4 separate regions of the Homo sapiens genome follow, and all the other regions are linked to region 3. Evidence: promoter capture Hi-C in 16 types of primary human blood cells and fetal thymus (Javierre and others, 2016). All regions are on one chromosome and are shown on one strand. Each heading gives the region's core, a stretch centred on a gene start or on the middle of the fragment in contact. The rest is flanking DNA. Distances are from core to core; before and after follow the strand shown.

The links. Contacts are between HindIII fragments. The CHiCAGO score rates a contact against its expected background, and 5 or more counts as called.
Region 1: a contact is called between a fragment that was not itself captured here and the fragment with the promoter of TMEM245 in region 3, in 1 of 17 cell types (naive CD8 T cells). The highest score is 5.0, in naive CD8 T cells.
Region 2: a fragment that was not itself captured here is called in contact with the fragment with the promoter of TMEM245 in region 3 in 4 of 17 cell types (naive CD8 T cells, non-activated CD4 T cells, activated CD4 T cells and 1 more); the score reaches 10.9 in naive CD8 T cells.
Region 4: a fragment that was not itself captured here is called in contact with the fragment with the promoter of TMEM245 in region 3 in 2 of 17 cell types (total CD4 T cells and activated CD4 T cells); the score reaches 5.7 in total CD4 T cells.

The regions. Positions count from the first base shown.
Region 1 is chr9:83,697,912-83,700,611 of GRCh38, forward strand. The region is part of intron 1 of UBQLN1 (ubiquilin 1); the gene reads right to left. Among named protein-coding and RNA genes, the nearest start is that of UBQLN1-AS1, 8.6 kb to the right of the region's middle. The HindIII fragment of the contact is 2,010 bases long and covers 391-2,400 here.
Region 2 is chr9:86,279,297-86,281,996 of GRCh38, forward strand. All of the region lies in intron 1 of ISCA1 (iron-sulfur cluster assembly 1), which reads right to left. LOC124902194 (a long non-coding RNA gene) reads right to left here. Exons shown (of 2, transcript XR_007061634.1): 1 at 2,673-2,700; 2 at 1-2,157. Among named protein-coding and RNA genes, the nearest start is that of ISCA1, 1.9 kb to the right of the region's middle. RefSeq lists a silencer at 2,623-2,700. The HindIII fragment of the contact is 1,224 bases long and covers 663-1,886 here.
Region 3 is chr9:109,118,610-109,121,309 of GRCh38, forward strand. It overlaps TMEM245 (transmembrane protein 245), which reads right to left and starts at 1,338. Exons shown (of 18, transcript NM_032012.4): 1 at 726-1,338. The coding sequence starts at 1,304. RefSeq lists silencers at 668-777, 1,128-1,297, 1,438-1,487 and an enhancer at 968-1,017. The HindIII fragment of the contact is 5,277 bases long and covers 196-2,700 here.
Region 4 is chr9:83,966,099-83,968,798 of GRCh38, forward strand. It overlaps HNRNPK (heterogeneous nuclear ribonucleoprotein K), which reads right to left. Exons shown (of 17, transcript NM_031263.4): 17 at 1,985-2,700. Among named protein-coding and RNA genes, the nearest start is that of MIR7-1, 2.4 kb to the right of the region's middle. The HindIII fragment of the contact is 545 bases long and covers 1,130-1,674 here.

The DNA of each region.
Region 1 (2,700 bases), core at 146-2,645, about 25 Mb before region 3:
CTTTAGTAGAGACGGGGTTTCTCCATGTTGGTCAGGCTGGTCTCAAACTCCTGACCTCATGTGATCCACCCGCCTCGGCCTCCCAGAGTGCCGGGATTAGCAGCATGAGCCACCATGCCTGGCCAGCATCTTCATTTTTTAAAAAAAGGATAATAATAGTGCTTTCATCATAAAGTTATGTGACATTTTAAAAAAATATAATGCATCATGCCTTATAAATCATGCCTGCAATAAATATTGGCCATTATGTCATTGTCATTAACAGCATTTGCAAAGGTTCAAAAAGGGGAAGAAAGAGCCAGTGATATTTGAGGGTAGGGGAAGAGACAATACAAACTGGCTGAAATGCAATGAAAACAGGAGAAAAGGCAGGTGGAAGCACATCCTGAAAGCTTTATTAGCTGTGCTAATTCAGCAGTCACTAGCTACATATGGCTATTAAGCACCTGAAATGTGGCTACTTCAAACTGAGGTATGCTTAAGTGTAAATTACAAAATATATTTCAAAGACTTAGTATTTCAAAATGCAAGATATTTTATAGTCTTTATATCAATTGCACCTTAAAATATTTTAGACATACTGGGTTAAATAAAGCATATTAAAATTACAATAGCCAAAAGGTGGAAGCAACCCAAGCGACCAGCAACAGATCAATGGATTTTTAAAATGTGGTACATACATATAATGGAATATTATTCAGTCATACACAGTAAATTCTGGCTGGGTGCGGTGGCTCACACTTGTATAATCCTAGCATTTTGGGAGACCAAGGGGGCAGATCGCTTGAGCTCAGGAGTTTGAGACCAACCTGGGCAACATGGTGAAACCCTGTCTCTACAAAAAAATACAAAGTAGCCAAGCATGGTGATGTGAGCTTGCAGTCCCAGCTACTTGGGGGGCTAAGGCAGGAGGATCACTTGAACTTCAGGAGGTGGAGGCTGCAGCAAGCCATGATTGTGCCACTGCACTCCAGCCTGGGTGACAAAGTGAGACCTGTCTCAAAAAAAAAAAAAAAAGTAAATTCTGACACATGCTACAACATAAATGAACCTTGTGGACGTTATACTAAGGGAAATAAGTTAATCACAAAAGGCCAAACACTGTCTTATTCCACTTATATGAAATACCTAGAGTAGTCAAATTCAGAGACAGAAAGAAGAATGGTGGTTGCTAGAGGTGGGGGAATGGGGAAAATGGGGAGTTACTGTTTAAACGGTCCAGGGTTTCAGTTTTGCAAGATGAGTTCTGGAAACGGATGGTGGTAACAATTGTACAACAATGTGAATGTACTTAATGTCACTGAAGTGAACCCTTAAAAATGGTTAACATGATAAATTTTGTTATGTGTGAGTCACCACTATTGAAAAATTGACTTCAGTCCTTCCTTTTGATTAAAGTGGCTAATAGGAAAATTACATATGTGGCTCATACTGTTTTTTGTTTTTAAGAGACCAAGTCTCATTCTGTCACCACAGCTGGAATGCTGCGGTGCAATCATAGCTCAGTGTAACCTCCAAACTCCTGGGCTCAACCTTGCTGGACTAGCTGGGACTACAGGTGTGTGCCACCACACCTAGCTAAATTTTTATTTTTTTGTAGACAGGCTGGTCTCGAACTCCAGGAGGTGGGGGCTGCAGTGAGCCATGATCACTGAGCCATGGTGCTCAAGCAATCCTGCCACCTTGGCCCCGCAAAGTGTTGGGATTACAAGCATGAACCACTGAGCCCAGCTCACATTGTATTTCTATAAAAAATAAGTCATGGTAAAAATTTCCAATGAGAAGTGTTTTGATGAACAAGATATATTAACAGGAAGCCCTAATACCAGGGTAAGCAAACTTTCTGTTACGGGCTAGACAGTAAATATTTTTGGCTCTACCAGCCACATGGTCTATTCTGAAAGGAGCTATAGATAACACATAAGCAAATGGGCACAATAGATTTCGACTACCAGTTTGCTGGCCTCTGCCCTAAGGCACCCATTATAAGCAATGGCTCTTAAATTTTCATAAATTTTGTGAGCCAGTTTAATAACGGTATCTTGAAATCTGCCACAGTGAGAATATTTACATCATGGAAATCCAGCAAACACTACAAATCAGTGTTTTTCCTGAAGAACGGGTTGATAAACCAGCATTTACCAACAAACCACTCACTATGTAATGAATTAACTTCTCTCCTATACATCTAAAATTATATTCATTATGAACCATCTTTGAAAAGAAATGGATAGCTATTCATATCACTTTCTGTGCTCTGTGGTTCAGATGAGAATCTCCAGCTAAGAAAGGTGGTTCTAGAAGAGTAATGTTCCAGGCAGAGAAGCAAGAGTGAACATCATGAAGCAGTCAAGAGTTGTGCCTGGAGAGTGGTGACCTGGGGGGAACAGCTTAAGAGGAAGCTTCCACAAAAGGACTGGGAGCTACCAGATTATGTACATACTACACTCAGTAAAGGTTCAACAATAAGTAGTTATTACTGAATATGTATTATTGTACATAATGGACTAGATTCATCTGTAAATAATTTATTGAGCCCTAGGCTCTGGTAACACAATGGTGAACAATCACAGCCCCTCTCTAAAGAGAAGGAATCACATAAATATACAATTTTTAGTTGTGATGAATTCTTATCAAAAACAGGCTACTGTGAGAAATCCAACAGGGGATCCCAATCCAGTCTGGACAATCAGAAATAGA
Region 2 (2,700 bases), core at 25-2,524, about 23 Mb before region 3:
AGTCCTACAAATTAGAGTTGCTCTGACTTGTACAATGATGGAAATAAATCTGTCTGCAAGCAGGGCACTATTTACTCTTCAGATTCTTTAATCACATCTGGCTCCTGCAAGTTCAATTCCACTTGTCAATTTCTAGATATGTAGGGAAATAGGGAAGATGTAGATAATCTGATAATGACAGCATTGAACTGTGTTATATTATCAGTTACTTTTCCTAGCCTTTTGTTGACATCTGGTAGACTCCACACATATAGCACTTTTCAAATGTTGCAACATGTCAAATTCCTAACATCAAAATTTATATATCCAGGTAACATTTATCCCTTCCAATCAGTTTTACTGAATTAGGTATACTTGTGTTTGCTCTTATCTGTCTCTACTTATTAGACCCAAGTAACATTTACCTCTTCCAATCAGTTTTACTGAATTACGTATACTTTTGTTTGCTCTCTTATCTGTCTCCATTCATTAGGCCTTTGACGGCATCACTACTTTTGCACTTGACGATACATGCTGATGATAAACTAAGCACAAAGAGCAATACATGCCATAGTGTCCTGACTAGGGCACGAATGCTGGAACTAAAATGACTGCAAGCCCACCAACACAGGCTGTGTGGAAAACAGCATTGATGTGCCTTCTCTCTGGTACAGCTTCTGAGAAGCTTCTAAAGTCAGCCATACTTAAGTAGGACAACAGAGTACAGACAGTAGACTCCTGCAAGTTAATCAAAACAGCTGAGTCAGGCAACATGGATACCTTGAGAACTGCTATGATAACATGTACTGAAGCAGAGGGGAGCAAGTGTGGAGAGAGACCAAGCCTGAGAATGTGCAGTGCTATTACTCCTAGTAAGAGGTGGCAAAGGCTTGGCCTGCGACTGTGCCCCGTAGGCTGGGAACTGTATAACTCATTCATTTGTCTTGAAACACAGCAGATCTTGATAAATGTCTGCTGAATGACTAGGAATGGAGAGAAAGGGACTGACATAGAAATTCTGAAGGAAGGGCAAGGCACGGTGGCTCATGCCTGTGATCCCAGCACTTTGGGAGGCTGAGACGAGTGGATCACGAGGTCAGGAGTCCAAGACCAGCCTGGTGAAGATGGTGAAACCCCATCTCTACTAAAAATACAAAAATAAATAAATAAATAAGCTGGGCATGGTGGTGGGCGTCTGTAATCCCAGCTACTCAGGAGGCTGAGGCAGAGAGTTGCTTGAACTCAGTAGGCAGAGGCTGCAGTGAGCTGAGATCACGCCACTGCACTCCAGCCTGGGCAACCCAGCGAAACCCTGTCTCAAAAAAAAAAAAAAAAAAAAGAAATTCTGAAGGAAGAGGTAACATGTCAAATGGTGATGGAGAAAGACATCAGGGACCAGGCATGGTGGCTCACACCTGTAATCCCTGCACACTGGGAGCCTGAGGCAGTGGACTGCTTGAGCCCAGGAGTTCGAGACCAGCCTGGGCAACCCAGGGAGACCCTAGGTGCATGCATGACGGTGCACACCGGTGGTCCCAGCGACTTGGGAGCCTGAGGTGGGAGGATCGCTTGGGCCCAGGAGGTTGACGCTGCAGTGTGCCATGATTGCACCACTGAACTACAGCCTGGGAGATAGAGTGAGACCCTGTCTCCAAAAACAAAACAAACAAAAACAAACAAACAAACAAAAAACAAAAAACAAAAAACCCAGTTAATAGGGTTGCTAAAAAGCAAAAAAGAAAAGGCAAAAACTGTTCCTGAACCTTCTGGCTCTTCCTGGATCTACCATTACCAGTGGAAGAATTCTGAATAATTCTTACTGAGATTGAAAGAGACACAAAGAATGAGTTGTGCCCTCTAGTTCTTAAAACCTTGTTTAATTCTACATCCCACGGTGTATGAAAATAAGCTTGCTCCTACAGAAAAGAGGTAATATAGAATGATACATAATCAGTACACTAGTAGTACCATATATAATCAGGGTAATATCAAAGGCCTAAAAAATTGATTATAAAAATAAATTCTCTCACCTGATCACAATTTTCTTCTACTTTGCTACAAACTTATTTTCTGGTAATAGGCCCTTTTGGCATTAGATGCAACAGAATCGATGAGTCAATTTAAATCGTTTTTTTTCCCAGTCTCTAAGCGAATGGTTGCATAAAGTCGTCTCCTTCACTAAAAGGGGAGTGTATGTAGGAACGTGATCATAAATTTTTCTTTTGGGGTGAAAGTATTTTGGAACTAGATAGAGGTGATGGTTGCACGACACTGTGAATGTCTTAAATGGCACTGAATTGTACCCTTTAAAAGGACTAATTTTATGTTATGTGGATTTTCCTTCCACTAAAAAACTGAACGGTGCGGCCGGAACACTGAGCTCAGTGAATTCTCTAAGTAATCAATGGTTGCACTCTGGTGCCCTCTGAGTGTTTGACCTTTCACCCAGAAAAGGCTGTAAACTCACTCTGGGAAATCATCTTTTGTCCTAAGAGCCTAGGCTTGCTAGAGGCACAGAGGGAGTTTCAAAGGCCTCAATCACCCAGGACACCGGCAAGTAACGCTTTGCGCGCCGCGGCCGTGACCTCGGCAGGAGCCGGGGGCTTTGTTGTCGCTGTGCTCGCCCTCTGCGAACGCTGTCGCCCCGACACAGCGGTCCTTCGGACAGCCTGGTCCCTCCCCACCCCACGCACCTCCAGGCTAGGACTCCGGGCCACCACC
Region 3 (2,700 bases), core at 88-2,587:
TCCCCTTCACGCGGTCAGCTGCTTTACTCCAGGCGGGAGGAGGTGTGCTGTGGTACACCAGTCCCTGCACAACAAAAGCAGTTACCTAAAAGTAAAGCGTGGAGAGGAAGAAGCACAGGCAGCTCAGCACCCAGTGCCTTGCACAAATTATACAGGAATCACCTGAACTGAGAGGCAGCACCAGCCAGTGAAGCAAGCTTTGTTTTAGGACTTGTAAGAAATCTAAGACACCCAAACCCCTCTTTGTCCCTAAGTAGCCCTAGCCTGGTAAGAGGTCACCTTTCCTATCTGCAGGATGGCAAGTTGGCCTAGAATCTCTAAGGTCCCTTCCAGCTCTGACATTCAGATGCGCAGAACTGAGGGTGGCCGAAGCACCCCCGCCCTCTCCAACCAGAAGTAAAACCAAGCCCCACTGCCATGCTCTGAGGCCTCTCTCTGCAAAGCGAAATAACGATTCTCAATCCAGGGCACTGTCCCCCTAAGAGGGCCTATTAGGATTGAAACAAGGCGAAAAGCAGGGAGGCTGTTTCAAATCACGCCCGCCCCCTTTTTGGAAGAATGTCCGCCAAATTCCTGAGGTGTGAGAAGGAAAGCGGAGACGGACGGTCACTGCAGCACAGGTGTGGCCCCTCGTCGCCCCTGCACCGGGAGGAACAGCTGCAGGATTGCACCCCAGAGCGCCGGGACCACGGGCGGGGGACGGGGGCGGACTGCCGCTCACTCACCCACAGGCTGCTGAAGTAGTCCAGCCCGCGGCAGATGAGCGTGGCAGCGTGCACCAGCAGCACCTGCACGCCCAAGTAGCTGCCGAGGCAGTAGAGGCCGTACAGGAGCGGGCCGCCGGCGCCGAGCAGCAGGAGCAGGCGGCGGCGGCGCAGCGCCTGCTCGCCCAGGGCCTCGACGCCGTAGTCGACGAAGCAGAGCGGCAGGAGCAGCGCGGCCAGGACGATGGGCGTGTGCGCGCGGTGCAGGCGCTGCAGCCAGTGGCGGCCCAGGCGCGTCAGCGAGCTCTTGAAGGGGTGCAGAAAAGTGCCGCATAGCACGGCCCAGAGCAGCGGCCGCAGGAAGGCCTCCAGGATGAAGTAGACCAGCACCGCGGCGCCGCAGCACAGGCACACGAACAGCACGGCCCCGGTGTTGTAGAAGGCCTGCTTAATGGGCTTGTCGAAGCGCAGCGCCAGCGCCGCGGTCCGCGGGGTCTCCCCGCCACCGCCACTCGGCCCGACCGCGCGCGGGACCCGCGGCGCCGGCCCGGGAGAGCTCCGCAGGCTTGGCGCGTCCTTAGGGCCGCCGCCGTCGGCCATCGTTCCTCCGCCACAGCCGCCCCCGAGGGGCGGTAATGGGAGTCGGGCTAGAAACGCGGGCGGGAGGCAGGGCGGGAGGCGCGCGAGATTGTGGGAGTTGTAGTTCCCCGCTGGTTTACAGACCCACCAAGCGCTTGCAGGAAACTACAACTCCCGAAGGGGAAATGGGGAAAACGCCTCCGCCTCCTTGGTGTCCGCAAGGTCCTGCTAACAAGTTTGCAGGGTCTATATCTTCCTGGAGGGGGGGGGGGGGGGAAGCTCCTTTCACTCATTCGTTAATGTCAATTTCTCGCGAGGCGAGATCCCAAAAGGCGCCACATTCAGATATTAAAACCCAAGCTGCATACTAGAATACCGTGGGGGAGTACTTTTAAAGAACCAATGCCCCGATTCTGTTTTACTGATTTATTTAACAGATATTTTTAAAGTGTTTTCTTTGGTGTATCTGACAGGATTTTAAATAGAGATTACCATATAACAGGCCCTATTCTAAGTGGCTCACTCCTATTAACTCATTTAATCCTTAGAACAACCCTACAAAGAAGGTGTTATTATCCTCATTTTACCAACAGAAAAACTGAGACAGAGCCGTTAAGTACGCAGCCAGAGTCACACAGCTACCAAGTGGCACAGGCAAGATTCAAACTCAGGGATTCTGGCTCCAAAGGCTATACTTTTATCTACCATAGTATTTGGCCTGAGGAAAGAACTCTTGGCATTTTTCAAACGTTCCTCATAAGCCTGTAATTTGCAGCCGCTGTTGACAACTGTTTGTGCAGGTTTCGCTGTGGACGCAATCTAAACTCTTAAAAGAGTCGTAGATCAAAGTCTCAAACTGCCACTGTTTCTTTTTGAGACTTGATGTAATGTCAGTTAAGCCCCCAATCTCAAGTTTTCCTCTGTCACATGGCGATGATAATAATAATAGCTTTTGCTTTAGGGTTATTGTGTGGGGGAAGGGAAACTCTGGGGCGGTACAAGGTGCTTCTGTTCCCCTATTGGAAAAGTGCTGGGATCCAAGCCTGCTACCCATAAAATATCCCAATCAACATTTTGATTTAAAAAAAAAAAGAAAGCCTTGACTGAGTACTCAACATGTGATTGCTTCAAACCTTGCAAGTTGTCCCTTTCCTGTTTCAATAGTATTCCTATTAATTTCTACATAATTTTTGTTTCCCTTCTAAAGCAGACAAGACAGGTAACATAATCCACAGTTTGCAGATAAAGAAACTATTGCTTGATAGATTTGGAGACAAAGGGATTTAGTAAAGGAAGTAAAGGAAAAAGTAATTCCCTATCCATCTCGATTGTAAGTTTTAGGTCTCAGTATTTCAGATGGCCTTTGGAGTTTTATAACCAAAACGCAGGTTTAGTCGCTCACCACTTGCAGATTCCA
Region 4 (2,700 bases), core at 152-2,651, about 25 Mb before region 3:
CTCTCTCATTAATCATCTCCCACTGCTCTTGCCCCGGTCTGAAATATAGGAAGGTCTCTGGGGATGGCCTGAGCCAGGAGCCGAGATAGCACCACTGCACTCCAGCCTGGGCGACACAGCCAGACCATCTTTTTAAAAACAAAAATTCTTCTCCTTTTTTTGGTTCTCTTTAACATAAAAACTTACTGGATTGAGACAGGGTCTGTCACCCAGGCTGTAGTGCAGTAGTGCCATCAAGGTTCACTGCAGCCTCCACTTCCCGGGCTCAGGCGATCCTCCCACCTCAAGCCTCCTAACTGGGACTACAGGTACGCGCCACCATGCTTGGCTAATTTTTTGTAGAGATGGGGTTTCACCATATTGCCCAGGCTGTCTCAAACTCTTGGGCTCAAGCCATCTGTCCACCTTGGCCCCCAAAATGCTGGGGTTACACGTGTGAGCCACTGCACCGAGGCTAATTAAATTTACTTCGAATCACAGCAATCTGAAGCAATTCATTACCTAATTCACGTGGAACGGTAGTAATTGAGTACTAAAAAACCTTAAAACTAATGAAAGGGTTTTTTAAAAGGAAATTTTGCTGTTTGGTTTGATTTTCTTTGCTATTAGATCAGATTTAGTATTTTACATTATATGTCTCAGTACAATAAAACAAAGGCAAACAAAATTTGAATAGTAGGGAAAGGTTTTAAATTCTTGAGATAACTAGTACAACTTGGTTTCTGTCTGTTGGCATTTTGGTAATTAACTTACAAAAAGTTAGGCTAAATTTTTGAAACTAAGTCAGCATTATACACCAGTAACTTCTTACAAAATTGTCTCAATATTCCATTTAATTAAAGAGCTTATGTTCACTTCTCCCACCCTTTGTGAAAATTCTCCCAACCTGTCCCAATTCTCACCCAAATTTTAAATACCATTTACCAATCAATAGCAGTGGCAATGCAAAAGGCCCCTCTCCCTCCCAAAGCTGTATATCAAAGATATCAATACCAGATATTCTTCAATCCATTAAGTCTTCAGTAGAATGATGTGTTTAAGGTCTGAAATTATTGTAAAATGCAAAAGTGAAAACATTTGCAGCTAATGGTCCATGTGTTACATAACTCATTTACAGGTAACAGATAAAAGCTTTGGAAGCCAGTGTTCTCTCCAGGGATGCTTTCCTTCAGTAGGATTAACAATTTGACTAAAGTGTCCTTGTCATTTTTCTTTAGGGGTAAGGGCTCATTTCACCCTGAGCAACCCCAACTCAACCACACTGGGGAAACCATACCACAGGTAGCATTCACTAGTTTTAAGTAATATTTTGACATTTACTTCATGTTCTTCATTAATCAAAAGATCACTCTACGTCCCTCCCCAAACTAAATGTCACTCAACTCTACTTCCCTTAAAAGACATTATTCTGTTCATACTATTAATACTTACATGAATTCTAGAACTGCCCAACTGTTACTTTTATTATACACAAGCCTCTGACCTAAATTCAATAATTACATTCATGACTCCTTTCCTATATAGTTGTTCATCTGTTTTGAGGCAGGAAGATTGCTTGTGCCCAGAAGATGGAGGTTGCAGTGAGCCAAGATTATGCCACTGCACTCCAGCCTGGGAAAAACAGCAAGACACTGTCTCAAAAAACAAAACAAAACAAAACAAAAACAGTTTTCAAGCTTTCTGGACAGCTGGAGGTTAATAAGTAGTACTTCAGAAATATGAGCCGGGAACCATACTCTGCAGTTATTTTACATTATCTCCGATATTCTCAAACATCAAACTAAAGCTATTTTAGAGAAAGGAACCAAGTAACTCACTCAAAATTTCTCATAGGTAATGAGGAAAGCTCTGGCTGACTATAAGAAAAAAAAAATTGGATGACTAGGCTCTCATTTTGCTAAATTACCACGTTAATTATGAGCCCAACTACCACCCCTGCCAGCTTTCACTTATAAATGCTAGAAAAACACTTCACACAAAAAAATACATAAGATTACTATATTTCCTTTTAAGAGGAACGTTTCAACAAATTTTACAGGTGTCAATCAACCCTTGTTCAAATCGGGCACACATCAAATCTAGCATCATGGGTGTTTTATTTATTTGGAAGTGAATTTTAACTATCAATACAAATGCCAAGATACTACACAAAACATCCACAGGAACTTTTTTCATCTTTTTTTTTTTTGAATTGTACACAAACATTTCCTACATAATCCAACATACAACAGAGAAATGGTACATCTTTTTCTTTCAATTTGCATACAATGGAAAAACAAGTATATATATATTTTACAAAGTTTAACTAATAAGACACTAGAGCAAATTGACAGTTTAAGTCTATAGGTGAGAAATTATCTAATAAAAATAATCAATTTTTTCAGCATTAGTCACTTCCATAACCAAGTGTTATTCTGATTAATAAAACTTGCTGCCAATCAGAATTCTGGTATATACTCATACCATTACTCAACTTGTAGTACTGCTCCCCACCTTAGTTCTTCACAACTAACATAGAAAATTGTTGAAAAGTAGGGGCAAGCATTTGCAAAAACAAACAAAAAATCCCCAGCTTATTATAAGCATGAATATGTATGATGGAATTTCTTCCCAGCAATAGACTTCCAAACCATCAAGAAATCACCAGAACTAAGTTTGCCAAGTTATTTTGCCTATGTCCAACAAGAGATGCACTTATAT